Linked DNA regions of Homo sapiens: region 2 is linked to region 1. Evidence: promoter capture Hi-C in 16 types of primary human blood cells and fetal thymus (Javierre and others, 2016). All regions are on one chromosome and are shown on one strand. The core of a region is centred on a gene start or on the middle of the fragment in contact, and the rest is flanking DNA. Distances in the headings are between cores, read along the strand shown. Region 1 holds the start of KRTAP2-1 (keratin associated protein 2-1). Region 2 has its middle 11 kb from the start of KRT19.

The links. The method cuts DNA at HindIII sites, captures the fragments that hold promoters and counts their contacts. A CHiCAGO score of 5 or more calls a contact.
Region 2: a contact is called between a fragment that was not itself captured here and the fragment with the promoter of KRTAP2-1 in region 1, in 5 of 17 cell types (total CD8 T cells, naive CD8 T cells, total CD4 T cells and 2 more). The highest score is 8.2, in total CD8 T cells.

What each region holds. Positions count from the first base shown.
Region 1 is chr17:41,045,126-41,050,055 of GRCh38, reverse strand. It overlaps KRTAP2-1 (keratin associated protein 2-1), which reads left to right and starts at 2,740. Exons shown (of 1, transcript NM_001123387.1): 1 at 2,740-3,515. The coding sequence starts at 2,789. The coding sequence ends at 3,175. The HindIII fragment of the contact is 11,978 bases long and covers 1-4,930 here.
Region 2 is chr17:41,537,036-41,541,965 of GRCh38, reverse strand. No RefSeq gene overlaps it. Among named protein-coding and RNA genes, the nearest start is that of KRT19, 11 kb to the right of the region's middle. RefSeq lists an enhancer at 2,173-2,793. The HindIII fragment of the contact is 5,266 bases long and covers 1-4,930 here.

The DNA of each region.
Region 1 (4,930 bases), core at 1,491-3,990:
CCCACATTTCATATTGCTCAAACAGACATGCTGTACAATTTTTGTAGTTAATGCAATTATTACAGGGTCCTGGAATGATATACATCCTCCTCAACTGACAGGATTAAGAGATTAAAGTAAAGACAGGCATAGGAAATCACAAGGGTATTGATTGGGGAAGTGATAAGTGTCCATGAAATCTTTACAATTTATGTTTAGAGATTTCAGTAAAGACAGGCATAAGAAATTACAAAAGTATTAATTTGAGGAACTAATAAATGTCCATAAAATCTTCACAATCCACGTTCTTCTGTCATGGCTTCAGTCAGTCCCTCCGTTTGGGGTTCCTGACTTCCCGCAACACCATATACATATATAGTATACATACATATATACTGTATACATATATACTATACATATTTTACTATATATGTAATACATATGTATATATACATATATACTATATATATTTTACTATATATATAGTAAAAGGTCATGTTACTATATATGTGTATATATGTGTGTATATATATATTTACTATATATATATATATTTAACAAATACAAGACACTAAGTGCCAGACATTGTTTGTTCTTAGCACTTGACAAATATTAGCTCATGTAATCCTTACAATTCTGATATGAACTATTATTATGGCCCAAGGACACACAGCCAGTAAGTGGCAGAGCTTTAAATGAGCATTGTCCAGTTTCAGAATAAGTGGGGTCAGAAAATAGGATGTGACTTGCCACCAAGTGTCAAACCGCAGAGCTGTCTGTGCTCTTACAACTCTGAGGCATGAATAACTGAAGCATGACCCATATTTTCTCTGCCTGAAAACGAAGTTTGGCTATGGGGTGTGGATAAGTGTCTTAGAGTGAATAAACACTAGAAAGGTTACTGAGTGATGCACAGATTATCTTTTTGGACCTTTATAAAGGGGAGACAGATCCTTATAAAGGGGAGAGACAGATCTTTATAAAGGGGAGAGACAGATCTCTTTAGAATGACCTTGGGTTTGAAGTTTCTGCAGTAGAGAAATGAGTCTTGTTAATGTGATGATTTAAGTCTTCCAAAGAGGCTCCCATTGCATAAAATGTGATTATCATGAAGACTCCACAGCAGCATGAAAATAAATTATGAGATAATATGTCTCGAAAAGAGCAGAATATACAACTTTTTACCTAGTTACCTCTGGTTACCACTTTGAAAAACAAAAATCCCACGTCCGTAAACAAAGAAAAGAATGTAAAACAGGAGAGTCAAAGGTCTCTAGCGATGAGATTGTGCCTGATATCTCCCTCTTCTGTTTCCCTAATTGTGACTACCGGGTCCAGTCAATTTACATTCCTCTTAAAGTTTTGAAATTATGCTTGAAATTCCATTTGGGGAGCTTTAGATGTCCGGCCCCAAGGCACATTCTTTCAAATAAAGAAAATGATCCCGAAGTGATTCAAAACCCTGTCTGGTGACTAACAGGAGGAGTAAAGCTGGAAAGTAATGGGACTGTTTCCCCCATGTAGTTCCTGAACTGCCCCTGGCAACACTTCCTGAAGAAGCGCATCCATCACGCTTTTAGCAGTGCCACAGCAGAACACTGGGCAGCCTCCCAATGCGTCTACCCCTGAACAGTGTTCTGGATATGTGTGCAATGTTGGTTGAAAACCCCTTTCTTGTCACTTGCTAATCAGAGCACCTATGTCAAAGTATATATGCATATTTCTTTTTTGAGATGGAGTCTCACTCTGTAGCCCAAGCTGGAGTGCAATGGCATGATCTCGGCTCACTGCAACCTCCGCCTTTGGGGCTCAAGTGATTCTCGTTCCCCAGCCTCCGGCACAGCTGGGACTACAGGCACTGCCACCACACCCAGCTAATTTTTTGTATTTTATTAGAGTTGAGGTTTCACCATGTTGCCCAGGGTGGTCTTGAACTCCTGAGCTCAGGTGATCCACCTGCCTTGGCCTCCCCAGGTGTTGGGATTACAGGCATGAGCCACTGCGCCCGGCCAACAAGGTATATTCAGAAAAATTTCCCATTACAGAATTCTTCATTACATGCACAAGAAAGGCAACGCTAAAAAATGACATGTTTCAGAGATAAAAATCAGCATCTTATGACAGAAAGACCAGAGTTGCACAGAACCTGAACTAGAGAAAAGAAAACATGCAAGGCAGTCTTGGAGGTTTTATTCCAACACTTAGTGGTTTGCAAAAATTTTTGTCTGTCCTGTACAACTCTATGAGCTGCTATCCTATTCAAGGCCTATGTATCCCACTATATCAAGTGATAATCAAACGTATTCCCAAGCAGACTACGTGGGAGGGCTTGTCTAACACTCGTGTGATTCACGTTTCACATGTAGGTGCTTCCAAGGACTTGAGTCCCCTATTGGGGTCAGGATAGGCTCTACTCAATGTTCTATGTACTTCTCTATGTTTTTAATTTCTTTTAAAAACTGAAGTTTTTTTAGACCGTTTTGTCCAGATTTGATCCAGTGTTATCTACTCAAAATAAGCATCAAGAGCTACTATCACCTCAAATGACGATGAGTTCTTAGATTTTCACCCAATGTGAGTACATCCATACTTAGAGATAAAACAAGAGCTCTTTAGTGAGATAATGAGTGTGTCACAAGCAACCATTAGTCAAAACAAAATTCTACTTAATTGGCCAAAAGGTAAACGAAAAGGGTCACCTGCACCCGGCCAGGGTATATAAAGGGCCCAGAGGGGGAGGAGGACATTCACACCTGAGAACATCCAGCTCCTCTCCACAGCCCAACCCACACCAGCCTCAGACACCACCATGACCGGCTCCTGCTGCGGCTCCACCTTCTCCTCCCTGAGCTACGGGGGAGGCTGCTGCCAGCCCTGCTGCTGCCGCGACCCCTGCTGCTGCCGCCCCGTGACCTGCCAGACCACCGTGTGCCGCCCCGTGACCTGCGTGCCCCGCTGCACGCGCCCCATCTGCGAGCCCTGCCGCCGCCCGGTGTGCTGCGACCCCTGCTCCCTGCAGGAAGGCTGCTGCCGCCCCATCACCTGCTGCCCCTCGTCGTGCACGGCTGTGGTGTGCAGGCCCTGCTGCTGGGCCACCACCTGCTGCCAGCCTGTGTCTGTGCAGTCCCCCTGCTGCCGGCCCCCCTGCGGCCAGCCGACCCCTTGCAGCACCACCTGCAGGACCTCCTCCTGCTGAGCCACCACCTGCTGCCAGCCTGTGTCTGTGCAGTCCCCCTGCGGCCAGCCGACCCCTTGCAGCACCACCTGCAGGACCTCCTCCTGCTGAGCAGTGCACTGACTGCCCGGAACGCGTAACTCACCTTCTGAAAAAGTCACACTCCCATTTCTCTACTTTAACAAACCTCCTGCCCTGAGCCCACAAAACCCCACATCAACCAAGCAGGGAACCGAGCACTGGGCTCATCTATTAAGACCTGGGCCATTCTGAAGTCTGTAAAAGAAGCAATTTCCTTCTTCTTAAGATTTCGTGGCATGTTTATTTTCTAATAAATATCTGTTCTTTGGCCTTGCAAAAAGATTTGGTTTTATTTACTCATTCTAATATTTTGTATTAAATTAATTTTTTAATTAAAAAAACTGACACATAATTGTACATATTTATGGGGTGCAATGTAATGTTTCCATACATGTATACGTTGTGTAATAATCAAGTCAGGGTGTTTAGCATATTCGTCACCTCATACATTTATCATTTCTTCATGGTAAGATCATTTAAAATATTCTCTGATCGCTATTTTGAAATATATGATAAAATATTACTAACCACAGTCACCCTACTGTACATTAGAATACCAAAACTTATCCCTCCTATCTACCTGTAACTTTGTACCTGTAGACCAATCTCTGCCTATCCTCCCCTCCTCTCACCCTCCCCAGCCTCTGGTAGTCACTATTCTACTCTCTACTTCTATGAGATCAACTTCTTTAGATTTCACATAGGAGTGAGTGAATGTGCTATTTGTCTTTCTGTGCCTGGTTAATTTCACTTAACATAATGTCCCCCAGGTTCATCCATGTTGCTGCACATGACAGTATTTCATTCTTTTTCATGGCTGATAGTATTTCATTGTGTGTTTGGGTGTGAGTGTGTGTCACATTTTCTTTATCCATTCATCCATTGATGAACACTTAGATTGTTTTCATATGTTGGCTGTTGTGAATCGTGCTGCAATAAACATGGAAGTGCAGAAATCTCCTCAACATACTGATTTCATTTCCTTTGCGTATATACTCAGTAGTGGGATTCCTGGATCACATGATCGTCCTATTTTTAATTTTTGGGGAACCCTCCATACTGTTTTCCATAATGGCTATACTACTTTACATTCCCTCTAACCTTGTATGAGTTCCCTTTTTTCCACATCCACACCAGCATTTGTTATCTTTTTGTATTTTTGATAATAGCCATTCTAATTGTGGTGATATGGTATCTCATTGCGGTTTTGATTTGCATTTCCTGATGATTAGTGATGCTGAGCACTTCTTCATATATGTGTTGGAAATTTGTATGTTTTCTTTTGTGAAATATCTATTCAGGTCTTTTACCTATTTTTAATTGGATTTTTTATTATTATTCACTGTTGAGTTGTTCAAGTTCCTTATATATTCTAGATATTAACCCCTGGTCAGATGCATAGTTTGAAAATATTTTCTCCCAAATTTTTGCAATCTACTCATCTGACAAAGGGCTAATATCCAGAATCTACAAAGAACTCAAACAAATTTACAAGAAAAAAACAAACAACCCCATCAATAAGTGGGTGAAGGATATGAACAGACACTTCTCAAAAGAAGACATTTATGCAGCCAACAGACACATGAAAAAATGCTCATCATCACTGGCCATCAGAGAAATGCAAATCAAAACCACAATGAGATACCATCTCACACCAGTTAGAATGGTGATCATTAAAAAGTCAGGAAACAACAG
Region 2 (4,930 bases), core at 1,297-3,796, 490 kb before region 1:
AGTCGTTGTCTCTGACCCAGGGTCTCGTGTCTTCTGCCAGCATCCATAAAACTATGGCAGGACAACTTTTTAACTTGCAAAAAGAGTAAAATTTTAGACCTTTACAGTTCTTGGCAATTTGGCAGCTGTGCCAAGTGAGGCTTTGATCACCTGTGCCCAGGGTCACCCAGACAGAAAGCAGAAAACTAGGTGTGTTACTTTTTAGTTATGCTAACGTGGACTTCCTCTGTTAGCAGGTAAACGGCCCACGGCTAGGCTTCTTTCAGCCACTTTATCTTGCTTTCAGCTTACCCACTTTCAGCTTACCCGGGCCTCGCTCCCTCACTCAGGGGGCCCTCCATCTTTGTGCCTCTCCCATATCTCATGGATCTCATGCGTTAGGCTAGTGGTTCTCACACTATAGTGAGCCTCAGAATCACCTGGAGAACTTATTAAAAATTCAGACTTATTAAAGGTGCAGGTTCATCCACAAAGACTCGATTCAGTAACCCTGGCTCGCCTCTCCATGGGTTCTGTCCTGGGGGTGGAAGGACCACATGGCGAGTTGCTGCTGTAAAGAACAGGCTGACTGTGAGAATTTGTGAGCAGGGATTTGATCAAAGCTGGCTTGAGACAGATGAGCCTGGTGCTGGGGTGAGTTGCCGGGGTAGGTCAGCTCTGGGGGAGGCGGCTGTGGTCCTTTGGTCTTGAGGTGATAAGGCGATGATGGTGGGGCAGCAGAGGGAAGGAGTGAGGGGGTGCTGGGACAGGGCTGTTGACCCAGCTGGGTGATAGCCCTGTGTTTCCAGCCTCAGGAAACCTGCTGTCTGACTCACCTGGTACTTTGCATGTATCATCTCCTGGCTCAAACAATCACTGTTGGCTTCTGCAGGAAAAAAATAAAAAATCAAATCTAGTGGCTTGACCTGCTAGGCCCTTTGTTGTCTGATTCGAACCAGCTCTGCAGCCTCTGCTCCCTGGTTTTCCTTTGACACAGTGGTTAGACCGCAAGGTGCAGGCCCAGACCTTGTGAGTTCAAATCCCAGCCCGGTGCCTTACCAAACTCAGCTTAAGCAAGTAGCTCTCAGTTTCCTAGTTGGCAAAATGGGAGTGATGACAGTGTCCACAGCATAGGGGAGCTTCGATGATTTAAACAAGTTCATGGATGCCACATACTCGAACAGAGTTAGGCATAGAGGAAGAGGCCAATACATTTAGCCTGTTTTTATAAGATTTCTTTTTTACTGGAACTTCCCACTATCCGCCACCTCCATGTCCTTACTCTAGGCACCATTTACTGTGGCTCACCCTGGGGCTGTGAAGGGCCCCCTCCTCCAGGGCGCCCTCCCTGCTTACCCAGGCCTTGATCCCTCACTCAGGGTGCCCTCCATCTGAGCTCCAGCAGCCCCGGGTCTATGTCCCTCCTCTGACCCTGGCCTGCCTCCTGCCTTTGTCAGGAGCCTACAGTGTTTACCTCTTTCTCTTCCCCGAGCTCAGGTCGTCCCCTGGGGACAGACATCCTGGCTCCAGGGCACCTGCCTGCTGGTTTCTGCTGAGCAGGACACCAGCTGTGGGACTTTAGGCAGGCTGAGGCCCCACTCTCTCTCAGTTTTCTGACCTATATAAACTGCTGGAGGTAGGCTGAAGCACGTGTTTGGGCTTTAAAAGAGGGAGAATCTTTGCTGAAGCAAAATCTCACAGAAAGCTGAGTATATAAAACCAGTGTGAATGCATGTGTGAGAAGGCCTGGGAGTGTGTGAGTGTATGTGTGAGCATGTGTATGCATGTGTGTGCATGTGTGAGTAGGTGTGAATACTGTGTGAGGTGTGTAAGTGTGTGTGAGTGTGGGTGGTCACAGCAGATCCGCTCAGCTCCCACCTCTCTGCTTAGGGCTTAGCAGGCGAGGCTTGAAGATCTCTGGGCTAGAAGATTTCTATGCCCCCATCCTACAAGTGTAGGAGTTTTGTCTAAATCATCTTGCTGGGCTTTTAGATGCTTATTATGTTTCTTTTTCTTTTTCTTTTTTTTTTTGAGACAGAGTCTTGCTCTGTTGCCCAGGCTGGAGTGCAGTGGCTCTATCTCGGCTCACTGCAAGCTCTGCTTCCCAGGCTCAAGCAATTCTTCCTGCCTCAGCCTCCCTAGTAGCTGGGATTACAGGCACTCACCACCATGCCCAGCTAATTTTTGTAGTTTTAGTAGAGATGGGGTTTCGCCATGTTGGTCAGGCTGGTCTTGAACTCCCGACCTCAGGTGATCCACCTGCCTTGGCCTCCCAAAGTGCTGGGATTACAGGTGTGAGCCACTGTGCACGGCCAAGAAGATGCTTACTATGTTTCTTAGCAGTCAAGGTGAGGATAAGGATGAGGTAACATGGACATGGCAGGAATGGGAAACTTGGGGTTCGTGAAGCCTCCTCTCTTCTCCCCATGCTCCAGCCCTTTCTTCTGAAGCCCCAGACATGGATATCCCTGTTGGGATGTGTTTGTTCGGTTTCTGTGTACCAGGTCCTCATTGTATGTTTACTCAGCGAGGACAGATATCTCTGGTGGATCTTCTCATCCCCACAGGCTCCAGCCCTAATCCCAGGCAAGGACTTTGGAGGAAGCACTTTCCTCTCCAACTCCAGCACATTCCACTGGAGGGGGAAGGGTCTTGGCAGGACTGAGCCAGGGGAGGGCAGAAGATGCTTCCTGGCACTGTGGTTCCTTGGTGCATCCCCCGTGCCTCCCTGGTGCTGGCACGGCTGGTAGGCCTTGGGCTGGTAATTGGGCAGCCTGCTGAGGGCTGATGCTGGCACTGGGTAGTTCCTGCCTGGAATGCACGTGAGATGCCTAAGGGAGCCGGTGAGGCTTTGTCTTCTGTTAATACTCTGTGTGTGTGTCTTTGAGGTGGGATAGTGTTCCTTTTCAACTGACTTCAAAAAGCGCTTCAGATACCAGGCCCCTCTCATGGGATCAGGCGTCAGCTGCTCTTCCTTGGGGCAAAGGGGATCTCCCCCGTTCTCCCTCATCTCCCCCTTAGTCCCCAGGCCTGGGCATTCCTGGTATTCCCAGCTCCTGGCAGCCCATCTCGCTATGTGATTCTCTGTGGTTTCTGCCTGATGAATGTTTATCCTGCAGCCGGTTGGAGCCGGGATGAGCAGGGCCTCAGCATCCTGTCTCCAGAGCAGCTCTGAAGCTCCTTCCAGCTGCTGTTAGGAATGCCCCTTCTGCCCCAACCCCCTGCTCACCTGGTCCAGAAACTCACTAACCTGACCACCCCTCCCCCAAGTCTGCAAGGCCCCGCTTGCCAGCCTAAAGCCAGTGGAGCCTGGAATGAGTCAGAATTGAAAATAATAAGCACTCCCCTCAACCCATGCTAGAGGTGAGACATGCTCACTGCTGCTTTTTTGAAAATGTAGAAAACACAGATCTTCATTAGAAATCATCTGTCTCTTGGCTGGGCGCAGTGGCTCACGCCAGTAATCCCAGCAGTTTGGAAGGCTGAGGTGGGTGGATCACTTGAGGTCAGGAGTTTGAGACCAGCCTGGCCAACATGGTGAAACGCTGCCTCTACTAACAATATAAAAATTAGCCAGGTGTGATGGCAGGCACCTGTAATCCCAGCTATTCAGGAGGCTGAGGCAGGAGAATCACTTGAACCCAAGAGGCAGAAGTTGCACTGAGCCAAGATTGCGCCACTGCATTCCAGCTTGGGTGATGGAGTAAGACTCTGTCTCAAAAAAAAAAAAGAAAAAAAAAAAAAAAAAAAAGAAAGTCGCCTCTTTCATACCAACCCCTAACTGTGGGCTCCGTCTGTGAAGGCAGGGCCCAGGTGGACACAGCCCTTGTCCTTCCCCTCCCTCAGCAGGCATCAGCGCTGGCAGAGATCGGGGTACAGTCATTGCTTGGTTAGTAGAACCTAATTCTGCCAGGACGCGTTCCAACACAGATCTAGGAGGGCCCCGGTGTGATTCCTTTCCTGGAGGTGGATTAGATAAACCACCGTCCCAGACCAGCTTCCTGACCTCAGTGCAAATAGGAGGCTCACACCTCAACCAGGAGCCATGCAAGATTCTCTCCTTCCCTTGTCCTCCCCATGAATCGTCAGCCTGACCTGCTGGCTCTGCCCTCGGGATATCCCTTGCACCAGGCCACTGTTCCTGAAGTCCTCTGATGTCTCCCCAGAACAAGCCCCCAGTGTCTCTCACCTGAACTCCATTAGAGCCTCTTATTAGATCTCCAGCTCTTTGGGCCCCACGGTCTATTCCACAGGGAGCAGCCAGGGGTGGGGAGGGCGTCCCAGTGCTCCTCTGCTCAAAGCACCATTACTCTCAAGATAAAAGCCAGCGCCTCCATTAGACCGCAGACACCGAGTGCTCTGTCCTGGCCTCCCCTGGGCTCATCTCCTGCACACTGTCATTCTGGCTCACCCCTCTTAACCACTGGGACTTCTTGGTGTTGCCTGAACAGACCAAGCTCCCTCTTCCTTAGGGATTTTGGCTTTGCTGTGCCCTTGGCTTGGAATAATCTTCCCTGGGGATCTGAGGGCTCCTTTGCCTCATTCAGGTCTCTGTTCATGTGTCACCTCCTCAGAGAGGCCTTCCCTGACCACCCCTCAATGGCCTTCCCTGCTGACCCCCTCCCTGGCTTTGCTACTCTGCCCCCTACCCCAGATGAAAGCCCCAGGAGGGCAGGCAGCTTTAGACTGCCCTGCTCTTGAAGCCCAGAGTCTAGAAGGTGCCTGGCACACAGAAGGTGGACCATAATTGGTGTTAAATGAAAAAAAATAAAAGGGCTTCAGGAGAAGGCTCTGTTCTGGCAAATAATCATTAAATGTTTACTAGTGCTGGAGTCAGCCCTGGGGCTAGATACAGAAGCTCCAAGTCTAGATGGGGAGACAGAGCTGTGGTAAGTGCTGGGCAAGTGGGTGGGGGTGGGAATGCTGACCCAGCCTGAGCGGGTCAGGGTGG